Regions from separate parts of the Homo sapiens genome. Here regions 2 and 3 are each linked to region 1. Evidence: promoter capture Hi-C in human tissues and cell types (Jung and others, 2019). All regions are on one chromosome and are shown on one strand. The core of a region is centred on a gene start or on the middle of the fragment in contact, and the rest is flanking DNA. Distances in the headings are between cores, read along the strand shown. Region 1 holds the start of TMEM14A (transmembrane protein 14A). Region 2 overlaps CILK1 (ciliogenesis associated kinase 1). Region 3 has its middle 20 kb from the start of GSTA3.

Region 1 (4,032 bases), core at 438-2,937:
TTCAAAGAGTTTTTCTTTAGTTTTAGGTGATACGCCTTGAGTAGGAATATCATGAGGCTGTTTCCAGCTTCGAGTATGTTGGTGATAGGGTGTAAGGGATCTCAGAGCATCTAGTCTTGTCCATATCTTAAATCCAGGCACTGAGGTCCAGAGGGGAGTTATTTACCCAGGTCACATCAGATGAAGATAATGAAGTATTCCAAGAGGATTTTAGTTTTATTCCAAATAGGGTAAGTGTTCTGAGAGTGTGAGGAGAGAAGGTGAGGAGGCTGGGGTAAGGATGGGCATAGAAGGGGATGGAAAGGAGGGCTGAGAGAACTCAGAACCAAATTTCAGGCTATCACTTTCTCCACGCCACATTCCAGTGCCTTGCCATCAACTCTTCTGTGAATCTTCAGGAATTTTATTAATTCCCCAGGACCAACTTAGACTTTCATAAGTTAGATGTAGTTATATTACTTCCCTGAAGCACTTTTATGCACAAAGAATAGATGTAGCAAACAAACTTCACAAGATTTAATTTTTGAGTTTCCTTTTTTATTCTGAGGAATTCCGCTGTAATTCTCAGTGACACAGAACCTCTAGAGCTACTTCACTATGACAACCTTCTTCAAATCTCCAAAGGGCTGTTACATAAGGAAGAGGGTCGGAGTTCTGTATTCAATCAAGAAGGCAGAAGATTGAGATGATAAGTTGCTACAGGGAGGCATAATTTAAAGTCAATTTAAACTGTAATCCCAGCACTTTGGGAGGCAGAGGCGGGAGGATTGCTTTGAGCTCAGGAATTCAAGACCATCCTGGGCAACACAGTGAAACCCCGTCTCTACAAAAAAAAAATAGTCGGGTGAGGTGGCACACACCTGTAATCCCAGCTACTTGGGAGGTTGAGGCTGGAGAATCGCTTGAACCCAGGAGGCAGGAGGCAGAGGTTGCAGTGAGACGGGATGGTGCCACTGCACTCCAGCCTGGGCGACCGACTGAGATCCTGTATTTAAAAAAAAAATAAGGTCAGTTTAAGTTTCGTTCCTGGGATTGAGCGGATTGCCTTGCATTAGGCAAGGTTTTAAGTGCTTTCCAACTCTGGAATTCTATACCTTTCCCAGTAGATATCTAAACCCAGCAAATCCTGGGCCTGAAGTTTAAAACTAGGATCCTCGTCTCCCAACCACATCTAGATGATCCCATAGTGTAATGAAGGGTGCTTGGGCTTTGACACCAGGCAAACTTGGATTTTGACCTGGGACAACTAAGTCACTTGACCTCACTGAACCTTAGCTCCCTCCACTGACAGTGGGGACAGTCTGCTGGAGGGTGTGTAGAAGACCTCGGGTTGCCTTTTGGAGGTTCTGGAAATGTCCCTTGAAAGATGAATGGAGTTAATTTAAAAATCTTCGCCTTCTGTAATTTTGGCTTCTTGCAAACACGCTTCCTGCCAGTCCTGCTCCGTCAGGCGGGAGGCAGCAAACCCCAGCCCTGGCTCCAGGACAGGGCCGAAGGCAGGATAGACGGAGCAACGGGTCCGGCTGCCGCCGGGATGTTGCAGCACAGGGCCTCCTGGCTGCCTGGCCTACAGGCCGCCCGGATTCAGCCGGAGGGCATGGACCGGGTGGAGTCCTGCAAGGCGAGAAGGGACACAGCGCATGCGCGCGGCAGGGAGGGCGTTTCCAGGAGGGAGCGGCCTTTGCTCAGCGCGAGACGGCTGGGCGCCGAGTGGGACAGCGCTGGTGCGGAGACTGCTTCCGGACTCCAGGTACCGCGCTTGGCGGCAGCTGGCCCCAGACTTCTGTCTTTTCAGCTGCAGTGAAGGCTCGGGGCTGCAGGTGAGCTGTGCATCCCGCAATGGAGACCTTCCTGCTCTGAATTTTCTTACAAAACTGCAGAAATATAAGGGGCGTTGCTTAGCGGGCATCCCCTCCCCCGCGCCAAACCTGTACAGCAAACGATGATGCAGAGGACCTTGAGGGGATTTTGCAGGGCATCGGTCTTACCTCCGCGGTATCATTTTTCTCCTCCTCCCGAGTTTCTGCCTTCTGGTATCCCTAAATATCCCACCTATCCTGCCTCCTACCTTCCTGGATCTGGGGTGGTGGGGTGGGCTCATGGACCATTGCAAAATGCTTGGCAGGATTTTAACCTTCTCAGCACCACCCAGACCCCACTCGAAAATGTGCCTTTTGTGCCCTCCAAGAGCTCAAGGGTAGGTAATTGTTATATCTTTAGCATGTGAAAATGCTTTTTATGTAACAGTTCACCGAAAATCTCTTAATTCTCCGAATTTTGGAGGATTTGGGGCGGGCAGCGAGGCTGTCCCCTGTCACCTTGTTTTGTACCTGGTATGGTAAATCGTTTTGCTGCATTGCATCCAAGATGCGTTTTAGTCCTTCCAAGGCTTGAGCATCACATTTGTGATGAGAGCGTGTGATGTGCTGTGCACATCCTCTCCCACCTTATCCCTTCCATGTTAACACAGCCTCTGGCTTTAATGTGTGCTTCTGGCCTGGCCACATGGCTCCGTCATGGAATAGGTGATTCTTTTGTCTGAATATTCTCTGTGAGAACAGAATCTTCTTGCAAGCATTGGGAGTAGATTTATTTTGCCTCTTTAGAACAACAGTCAGTTCGCTAAGGAGATTAAGGGGCTACCTGTTTCCTGGCAATAAAGCTGTATTGGGTAGGTCAGTTACAGAATGTCTTCAGGCAGAAGCTGTTCCTTTGGTTCACTCACTCATTTATTCATTTAACAAGTATTTTAAGTACCTGCCTTGTGCATGGCAGGGTTCTTGGTGCTGTGAGGAGGACAAAGATAAACTGAACCTTGGTTTGCCCTCAAGGAGCTTGGCTGGCTGAGAGTTGAGAGAATCCCAACCAAGTAAAAGGGTATGGGTCCTCAAGAGAAGATCGCAGGAAGAGCTGGGGGGCTCAGGATGGAGTGGAATTAATCTTTCACAACAGCTACTTAGCTTTAGGAGAAAATTAGGTCTAGAAGTTACACCTGATAATGAAAGAACTCTCATAAGCTTCAGATCTGTATGTAAGGGTGTTTTCCGGACTGTGTGTTGGGCGTCTCAGACTGAATACATTCTAAACAGGTCCCATCATTCCTAGCCACCTCCCTCTTCCCACCGCCACACACCTGCTGCTGTTCCCATGTTCTCTGTCTCAGGGAATAGCATGAGGCTCCCCGACTCCCTACTTCTCCTAATGGTCTAAGCCAGATACCTAGGGGTGAGTCATCTCTGATTCACCCCTGACTTTCCCTTCCCGCCTCAAATTCAATTCTGATTCTACCTCCTGAACTTCTGAAATCTGTCCACCTTCTCTCCATTCTCATTGCCATTTCTCTAGATAAGCCTACCGTTATCAACTAAGCTCTTGCTTACTTTACTGCAACAGCTTCCCGATTTATCTCCCTGCCTCACTTCACAACCCATCTTCACTACTGCAACTGGGAAGTGCTTGCTGGAATTTAAATCTGATTGTGAGGCTCCCTTCAGTGATCCTTCATTGCCCTTAGGACGGAACCAGACTCCCTTTACGGGGCTTATGTGGGTGTACAGCCCTGTCTTTCTCACCAGCACCCTCTCTTTTCACAAGCCCCTTGCACTTTTCATTTTGAGAACATGCTTTCTTGTGCCATTAGGGCCTTGCACATGCGCTCCCTTCTGCCAGGAACACCCTTCCCTGCACCCTCTTCACTTGACTTATTCATGCTCCCCTGTAGGGTAAATGCACCTGACAGCAATAATTAAAGCATACCCTTAGAATGACCCTGTGTGGCAGATGAACCTGAATGTGTTTTCTGAACTAGGGAACCCAGGCCTGCCCAACCCAGAGATTTATTTCTTGTCTATGAAGAACATCTGAGCCCCTGCCCCACCTGTCCCATAGAACAGGGGCCATACGGGGAATTGAGGCCTTGAATTTTGAGTTAAATCAAGTTGCCAGGTAGAGGTCATTGAGGGGAGGGTGTTAAGTGAAAATGCTGCATAAATTGCATGATGTTTGCAAGCGGTTGTTTTCCTGCCCAGCTCA
Region 2 (4,032 bases), core at 661-3,160, 370 kb after region 1:
ATACTTTTATAAATGAACGGTTGCAATCAGTTTGATGACAGGGAACACTAACTTTGAACTCCAATTAAGTTAAATATTATGTCCCCTCAAAAAGAATATCATTCTTCTCACTGGAAGACCTCTAATACAGAAAATTATACTAAATTATTATTACATTTTATATTTTATAAATAAAAATTTTATGGAAATTTGTTTTTGCTCTTGTTACACATGTATCTATATAACATCTTCAATATGACCTTTTAGTCCTAGAAGCATAAAAGACTGACTATCTGGCCCTTTACAGAAAACGTTTGCTGATCCCTGCTTTAGACTTGTAACCTCACTTCCATGTACAGGACCCCTTTGGAGAAAAAGAAAGGGTGTTTTTCAGTATTCTATTAGGTGTTTCAAACAGGGCTGGGTGAGAGGACTAAAATTAGATGAAGCACCACTCCACTGCACAAGGAAGAGAATTATGCATGTAAAACTCAATGTGATCAATCTACTCTGACAGAGAGAAAAATTGGAACAAAATCAATAGAAGAAGGGGCAGGGGGAAAGGAGGAGAATAATGAATCCCAGGGGCAGGGGGAAAGGAGGAGAATAATGAATCCAGTCAGAAGGCTGAATAAAAGTAAAGATCGGTGCTCCACAATGCTTGACATGGCACAAAAGAAGGACCTCAGCAAGGAGGAACGGATGAGGAATCTTGTAAGGTGCCTCCTTTCTACCCGCTTCTGCCTTCCCTCCCCTCTGTGTTCAGGGTTAGGCTGTGGCCCAGTGCTGGTAAGTCTGTGTGAGGCTCAACAAGCGCAAGGGTGTGGGGGTCAATGAATTTCCTCACAGAAAGTGGAGTGCAAATTATTAGAGCAAGAAACTGAAGTAAGTACTGCTATTATGTCTAGGAAAAACACTCAACAAGTGATTTTCCTTTACGTTAATAATTAAGAAAATAGGCAATAATAATTCACTAAATCAACACATTCAACTTCTTTATATTGAAATATATTGATATAAGTGATCCATTAAAGATGAAAGCTTTCTAATAACAGTATATACAATTATACCATAATCTTCTGCTTCAGCTGTAATGTTATCATTTGCCTCCCTTTCCAGCATTAGTGAAAAAATTCAAATGAAATGACTATATCAACTATAAATCTAAGCATGTACAAAGCTATTTTAATCATCCATAAATTATTCCTTGGTATATTAATATATACCTTAACCTCCCGAAGGTTCATGCATTCCTCCCAGGAATAAAATTTTCTTTTCATTCTAGAAGAGAAGAAAGAAACAAACAGCACACTTATTCTCAGTAATAGGTTAAACTTTGCTTTTAGAAAAATGCTTCCATTCTGATCCTAATTAACAGTACTTAAAGTGGGTTTAAATTTCTACCCAGTATTATACTATCCCAAACCAGCACTTATTTTCAAACAGCAGTGCAATAATCCTAAGTCACAAATTTTGCCAGTAGCAGTGGTGTGGTGCAGTCCAAAGAGGCCTGGACTGCTGTCTTACTCTATACTAACTAACTAACCTTGCTCTGGAAGGAAATTGCTCAGGCTTATTCTATTTAGACCAGAGCTGTCCAGCAGAACTTTCTATATTGGTGAAACTGCTCTGTGCTGTCCAGGATGGTAGCCACTAGACACATGTGGCTACCGAGCACTTTGGCATGTGGCTAGCACAATGTGGGAACTGAATTTTAATTTTAATTAAATTTAAATTTAAATGCCACATATGGTTACTTGCTATCATACTAGACAGCAGAGTTCTAGACCCTCTAGTGCAGGAGTCAGCAAACTATGACCCATGGGCCAAAACCTCACCACCATCTGTTTCTGTACAGCCCACGAGCTAAGAATGGCATTTACCTTTTTAAATTGGGGGACAAGTCAAAAGAAGAATAATATTTCACAATGTGAAAATTTTGTGCAATTCAAATTCCAGTTTCTATAAGTGAAATTTTATTGGAACACAACCATACTCATTCATTTATATACTGCCTGTGGCTGCTTTCAAACTACAACAGCAGAACTGAGTAGTTGCAAGAGACCATATGGCCTGTGAAGCTTAAAATATTTACAGCCTGGCCCTTCATAGAGAAAGTTTGCCAACCCCTGGTCTAGAGCCTCAATGGAGAAAAGAAAACTCCAGAGTTAATCAGAAATTCAACTTTCAAGGTTATATTTTTCAGTGCATTTCAATCACATTGTCTCATTTGTCTTATAGCAGTCCTGTGAAACAGATAGGACAGCTGAGGAAACAGAAACAGAGAAGGTACACGACTTTCCCGAGGTCTTACTGCTGGCCAATAACAAACTTCCCATCTCTCCAGCTCACTCTGTCCTTGTCACACTGTCTCCCGGTAGAGTGATCAAATCCTTTATTCATGCCCGAAATATTATTTAGCCCCTGCTATGTAGTACAGTAGGTGCCTTGTCAGGCACTGGAGAGACAATGATGAGAAAGACATCCCTCATGAAACTGACATCATGGCAGGAAGGTAGAAAATAATTTTCTGTACCAAGTGCTGTGAAGAAAGGAAAAGGGCCTATAAAAGTGAACCTGACGGGAGCAGTGGCTCAGCCAAATGATGCAGCAATTTGTAGGTCACATAAACATTTGGGGCTTCATCCTAAAACTGCCAGGAAGACATTGGAAGCTGTCTTGGTTTGGATTCCTCCAAAAGCAGGGCCTGGGCAAGAACTTGGGTGCAGGTAGTTTATTTGGGAGGTGATTCCAGGAAGCCAGGGCAAGGAGCAGGAGACTGAGAAAAGAGAGGTAGGGAACCCAATAATGGGTGTATGAGTAAGCCAATAACAGGGTTGGCAACTGGCTCAGGCAGGCTGGGGACCTTTTAAGGAGCTGGACAGAATGCACCTTGGTTGAAAGTCTCCCACATGCACTTGGGATGGGGTGCTGGCATGGGCATAGAGCTGTGCGCTACAGCTGCACTGACATCAGGTGGGAGCAAGGGATGTGTTCATGGAACACAAAGAACATTTGGTCAAGTAGTTTTAGATGATTGAAGTTGTATGTTTAAAATAATCCCTTTGGTCTGATATGAATAGGGGGAAAAAAGCCAGGAGCCCTAGTGGCGGAGGACCTCATGGTGGAGGTGGCAAATGGTAATGGGTTGAATGGAGGTTAGCAGTGGGAATATACAGAAGTAGGTGGATGACATAAATATTACGTAAAATTGACAGTACTAGATGACTAAAGGTGAGGCATAATGGGGAGGGAAGGCAGGAGGACTCCCAGGTTTTGAGGGTATAGTACCAATTATTGAAATAGGAAACACTGAAGAAGAAACAAATTTGGGGTAAGAGAGAATATGCTAAATATGAGTGTAGTTTTGGGCATGGTGAGTGTGAAATGTCTGCAGGGCATTCAAATATAGATGCTGACAAGTCAACTGGATAGAGATAGTTGTGGCAGTCTCCAATGTGGTTCCCAGAGACTCCCACCTCCTGCTACCCAGGGCCTTTTAGAACCCCCTCTCCTTCAACGACTTGCTTCTAACCAACAGAATATAGCAATTTGACAAGGATGTCACTTCTGTGATTAATTTACAAAAGCAAGATATGACTTCCATCTCAGTACAAGTCTCTCATTGCCTTCTTGACTCCCAAGTTTTGATGAAGCAAATTGCCATGTTGTAAGCTGCTTTTTAGATGCCCACATGGCAAGGAACTGAGGGCAGCCTCCCACCAACAGCCGGCAGGGAACTGAGGCCCTCAGGCCAACAACCCATAGATCAACTCACAATCACAAAATGAGCTCAGAAGTGGATTCTTCCCCAGTCCAATCTTTGGATGAGACCCCAGCTTTGGCCAACACCTTGACTACAGCCTCATGAGAGATACTGAGGCAAAGAACTTAGCTAAGTTGTGTCCAGACTCCTGACCCAGAGAAACTGTGAGATAATAAATGTGTGTTGTTTTAAACAACTAAGTCTTGGAGTAAATTGTTACACAATAACAGATAACTAATACAATGTGTCTGGACTCAGGTTGTGAAGGGCAAGGGGGTGCAGAGGGA
Region 3 (4,032 bases), core at 774-3,273, 260 kb after region 1:
CACAGGGTGAAATAGACCTATCAACCCTAAAGGAATGAATTAGTGAAGATTAGGAATACACACCCCTGGATAAAAAATATCTATGTTGATAATCAAAAAAAGCAAGCTAAAAAGCAAAACATCTTGGCTGAGAAAATGCAAGCAGATGTAATTTTTAATCCAAGCTGTTCATTCTTATTATTTTAAAATATTGTTTCTTTAACTGGAACCTTGACCTCTAAACTGTATGTGCAGCATTAGCGGTTGGTACTGGGACTTGCTGATAATTCAATTTTAAAATCAAATGAAGGCCAGGTGCAGTGGCTCATGCCTGTAATCCCAGCACTTTGGGAGGCCAAGGTGTGTGGATCATGAGGTCGGGAGATCAAGACCATCCTACCCAACATGGTGAAACCCCTGTCTCTACTAAAAATACAAAAATTATCTGGGCATGGTGGCAGGCACATGTAGTCCCAGCTACTTGGGAGGCTGAGGCAGGAGAATCACTTGAACCCAGGAAGCAGAGGTTGCAGTGAGCCGAGATCGCATCACTGCACTCCAGCCTGGGCAACAAGAGCAAAAACTTCTCGAAAAAAAAAAAATCAAATGAAACCTTTAAAAAACCATACTTCAAAATGGACACTTCACTTCTTTAACGTTTTTACTATTCAACTATTATCAAATATGTAGCTTGTATAATATACCTAGTTAGAACGAAGATTTGATGTATAAATCAGTTTCAGCTTTTTTTTTTCACCATTTGGAAAAAATAAGATACTCCAGAAAAATTCAACTTTCCCTCCCACTGAGTTACCAAAGGGGGGAAAAATTGATTAGAATGTGTCTTCTTTGCTTCTGCTGACCTCTAATGGCATCAGAAACAGTGTTTTTGTTTTTTTATTATTTTTTAAAATTTATTTATTTTGAGATAGAGTCTCACTCTGTCACCAAGGTTGGTGTGATCTCGGCTCACTGCAACCTCTACCTCCCGAGTTCAAGCGATTCTCCTGCCTCAGCCTCCCAAGTTGCTGGGATTATGGGTGCCCACCATCACTCTTGGCTAATTTTTGTATTTTTAGTAGAGACGAGGTTTCACTATGTTGGCCAGGCTGGTCTTGAATTCCTGATCTTGATTGATCCTCCAACCTTGGCCTCTCAAAATTCTGGGATTACAGGTGTGAGCCATCGTGCCTAGCCAGGAACAGTGTCTTTAAAAGAAGCAAAGAAAACAAGTAAAATGCAAGAAGGAAAAAACAAAAGTACCCGCTCTTTGTAGAATGAATATAATTCATAGTACCCCAAACATGTTTTAATTAAAAATGAATTTTTATACCACCAAAACTGTAACTTTTTGAATGGTGATAAAAATGTACCGTATCCTCTCAAACAAAAGGTTGCTATAATTGCAAAAATAATAACCATATTTTGTTTGGAAACAATTTGAGTAAAAGATCTCATCCTAAATTTGCAAACTGGGAACTGCCCAAATCAGAGCTGAATTCATGGCAGACCAGGAAGAAGTGCTGTTCACATCCAGTTCTCTGGAGCCACTAATGGAGAGGGGTATGGGCCCAAGGATAACAAGGCCATCCCTGCCAGGGCTGCTCAAGATCTGATTATCAAGAGATGGCCAAGGGCCAGCCATGTAGCCAGGAAGGCTGAGCAAGCAGATGAGTCATGTGCCAGGCAATATCTATACAATGTGGAGAGTACTAATGTCTTCATTTTAGAAATGAGGGTCACACAGATAAAAACTTGCTTAGTCATCCATCTGGTAAGTGAAAGAGCCAGATCCCACATCTTTCCAGTGTCAAAGTCCATGCTTTTTTTGTTATATCATATGCCTCTCCCCCAGAGTAAAAGGGAAGAAGCAAATTGTGATCTTGGGCTTGAAGAGAACATGAACAAAAGACACCATTCCCGGAAGTGAGTGAGGGTCTCAAATCTGAAGCAGACAGAGATGGGGGGTAAGGATCCTTACGTACAGAGAGCAAACAGGGGATGCAAGATCATAGAACATTCTCACATCTGGAGAGAACCCGAGACTGTGTTTGGAAAGATGAATGATAACACAAGGCAGTGTTGCAAACTTTAATGGGTACACAAGTCACCTGGGGATCTTGCCAAAATGCAGATGCTGATTCAGTAAGGCTGGGGTGGGACCTGAAACTGCATTTCTAACAAGTTCCCAGGTGCTGCCCATGCTGCTGGTCCAGGGCCACACTGTGAGTAATGAGTGTAAACAATGTAAGCCAAATGGGCGGTTCAGACACAAGCGCTCTCTGCAGGTGAAGCCCTCCACACCAGGTGGGGGACAGAAGGCGCTTATGGACAGCAGCTGAGAAATCACAGCCATCAGTGCTTCAGACACAAAGGCCTGCAGAATGCCTGTGATTTTTTGTTGCTGATATAGTTCAACTGTGGTTCGTACTGTTTTACTTCGCAAAAGGCATACAATGGTACCTTTGACCAGAATTGTTGACCTGGGAGTGTTATCTCTTTTCTATTGGCTGAAATGTTTTAAAATTTCCAATCGTGGTTAAACTACCCATGAGGCTTCAGAGTGTTTATTTACTTGTAGGCATTTGTGTTAAAGGATGGAGAGGCTCTCACTCTGCCTCTCCTTCTCCAGAGTAAAGGAACTCTTTCCCCACAATTCCACTTTTCAAAGCTTAATTCTTGGTGAAGTACAAGCAGCAGGACTGAACTGTGGGACCAGACATGGAGGGGCTGGTAAGAAGCAAATCCCAACTGGACCAGGCCTGAGCACATATTCAGGAGGAGGGAGGCTTTCCTGCCCAGGACCAGCAATGAGGCTTCTATTGAATGTACCTCTGTTCCTGATTTGAAGGACTTCGACGTCCTATTTGATGGCTCAGAGGCAGATACAGTCTTCCGGCCTGCCAGTAAAAGTCTCTGCTCCTCCTTTCTAGGTTTGGAAAGAAAGGGGAAGAACTGCAATTTATTGAAGGTCTGCTGTGTGCCAGGCATTGTGTCTAATCCATCACTTGATTAACAGACACACACACACACACGCACACAAGTACATGTCGAAGAAAGAGTCAGAAAGCAGCCTCTGGTTTTTCATTTTGGTTGAACTCATTTCATTTGTGGGCATCAATGTCTGTCCTTAGAGTCTACAGATAAACCAGACCCTTCAAGGACATCTTTTTGTCTTTTTTGATGTGGATGCCCTGATTAAACTGGAGATGATTTTGGAAATAGCTCATGAAAATTTACTTGAAGAGGCTTTGCAATTTCATTCCCAGAAGAGGCTGAGGGTTGCACCCCCCTTCACCAGAGGTATCTCCACTGTGTCTCCAGGGTATCACCTGATTTGATGAGCTCTGGCTTCCCTTCCAGTCCTGGGGCTCCCCTGTCTGTATGTTTTACACTTCACAGGGCACTTTATCACTACACAGAGGTACTCTCTATGATGCCTTCTGAGAAGAAGAAATGTAACTAAATTATAGTTTTAAATTCATCCACAAAGACCTGAAAAGAAAATGTAATTAACTAGATTATTGGATTCTTTTGCAATTGTAAAGGGAAATGGGGGCATTTAGAATTCTGGGAAATAGCAACTACTTTTAAGTGTACATTACAGCTCTATGAACAGGTAACATGGCTTAAGTAACACTTGAGAATTCTCCACATCCCCCCTCCCATTTGTACTGGCATCTTTGTTATGCACAGTCTAGTAACAATGCAGATCCTTCCCTGACCTTCCTCTGCTAGAGTAATTGACAAGAGGCACCTGGAGTCAGGACGGCCTGTGCTCAAACTGTCTTTCAAGCACATACTGGATCTATGATTGTGGAAAGTTACTTAACATCTTTGGGACCTACTTATAAGGTACTTGTGAAGATTAAGTAAGAGGTAAAATCTGCTTAGTGCAAACCTAGGCACAGATCAGGCCCTCAAAAACCGTGGCCATGAGGCTTATTGTTTCATTAACAATGGAAGAGGCTGTGGAAAGAGAATTTAAGAGTACACACTGAAGAGTGGAAATGGAAAGTGTGAAAAAGATAAACATGAAAGTCAAAATTTTAA

Evidence for each region. Contacts are between HindIII fragments. The study calls those that stand out against the background at their distance.
Region 2: a contact is called between a fragment that was not itself captured here and the fragment with the promoter of TMEM14A in region 1, in 3 of the 25 tissues and cell types used here (dorsolateral prefrontal cortex, hippocampus and mesenchymal stem cells).
Region 3: a contact is called between a fragment that was not itself captured here and the fragment with the promoter of TMEM14A in region 1, in 2 of the 25 tissues and cell types used here (H1 embryonic stem cells and mesendoderm cells).

What each region holds. Positions count from the first base shown.
Region 1 is chr6:52,669,426-52,673,457 of GRCh38, forward strand. TMEM14A (transmembrane protein 14A) reads left to right here and starts at 1,688. Exons shown (of 5, transcript NM_014051.4): 1 at 1,688-1,820. RefSeq lists enhancers at 904-1,404, 1,393-1,552. The HindIII fragment of the contact is 4,412 bases long and covers 1-3,756 here.
Region 2 is chr6:53,036,734-53,040,765 of GRCh38, forward strand. CILK1 (ciliogenesis associated kinase 1) reads right to left here. Exons shown (of 14, transcript NM_014920.5): 3 at 1,206-1,260. Among named protein-coding and RNA genes, the nearest start is that of CILK1, 23 kb to the right of the region's middle. The HindIII fragment of the contact is 4,968 bases long and covers 1-4,032 here.
Region 3 is chr6:52,927,816-52,931,847 of GRCh38, forward strand. No RefSeq gene overlaps it. Among named protein-coding and RNA genes, the nearest start is that of GSTA3, 20 kb to the left of the region's middle. RefSeq lists a silencer at 3,556-3,850. The HindIII fragment of the contact is 8,249 bases long and covers 1-4,032 here.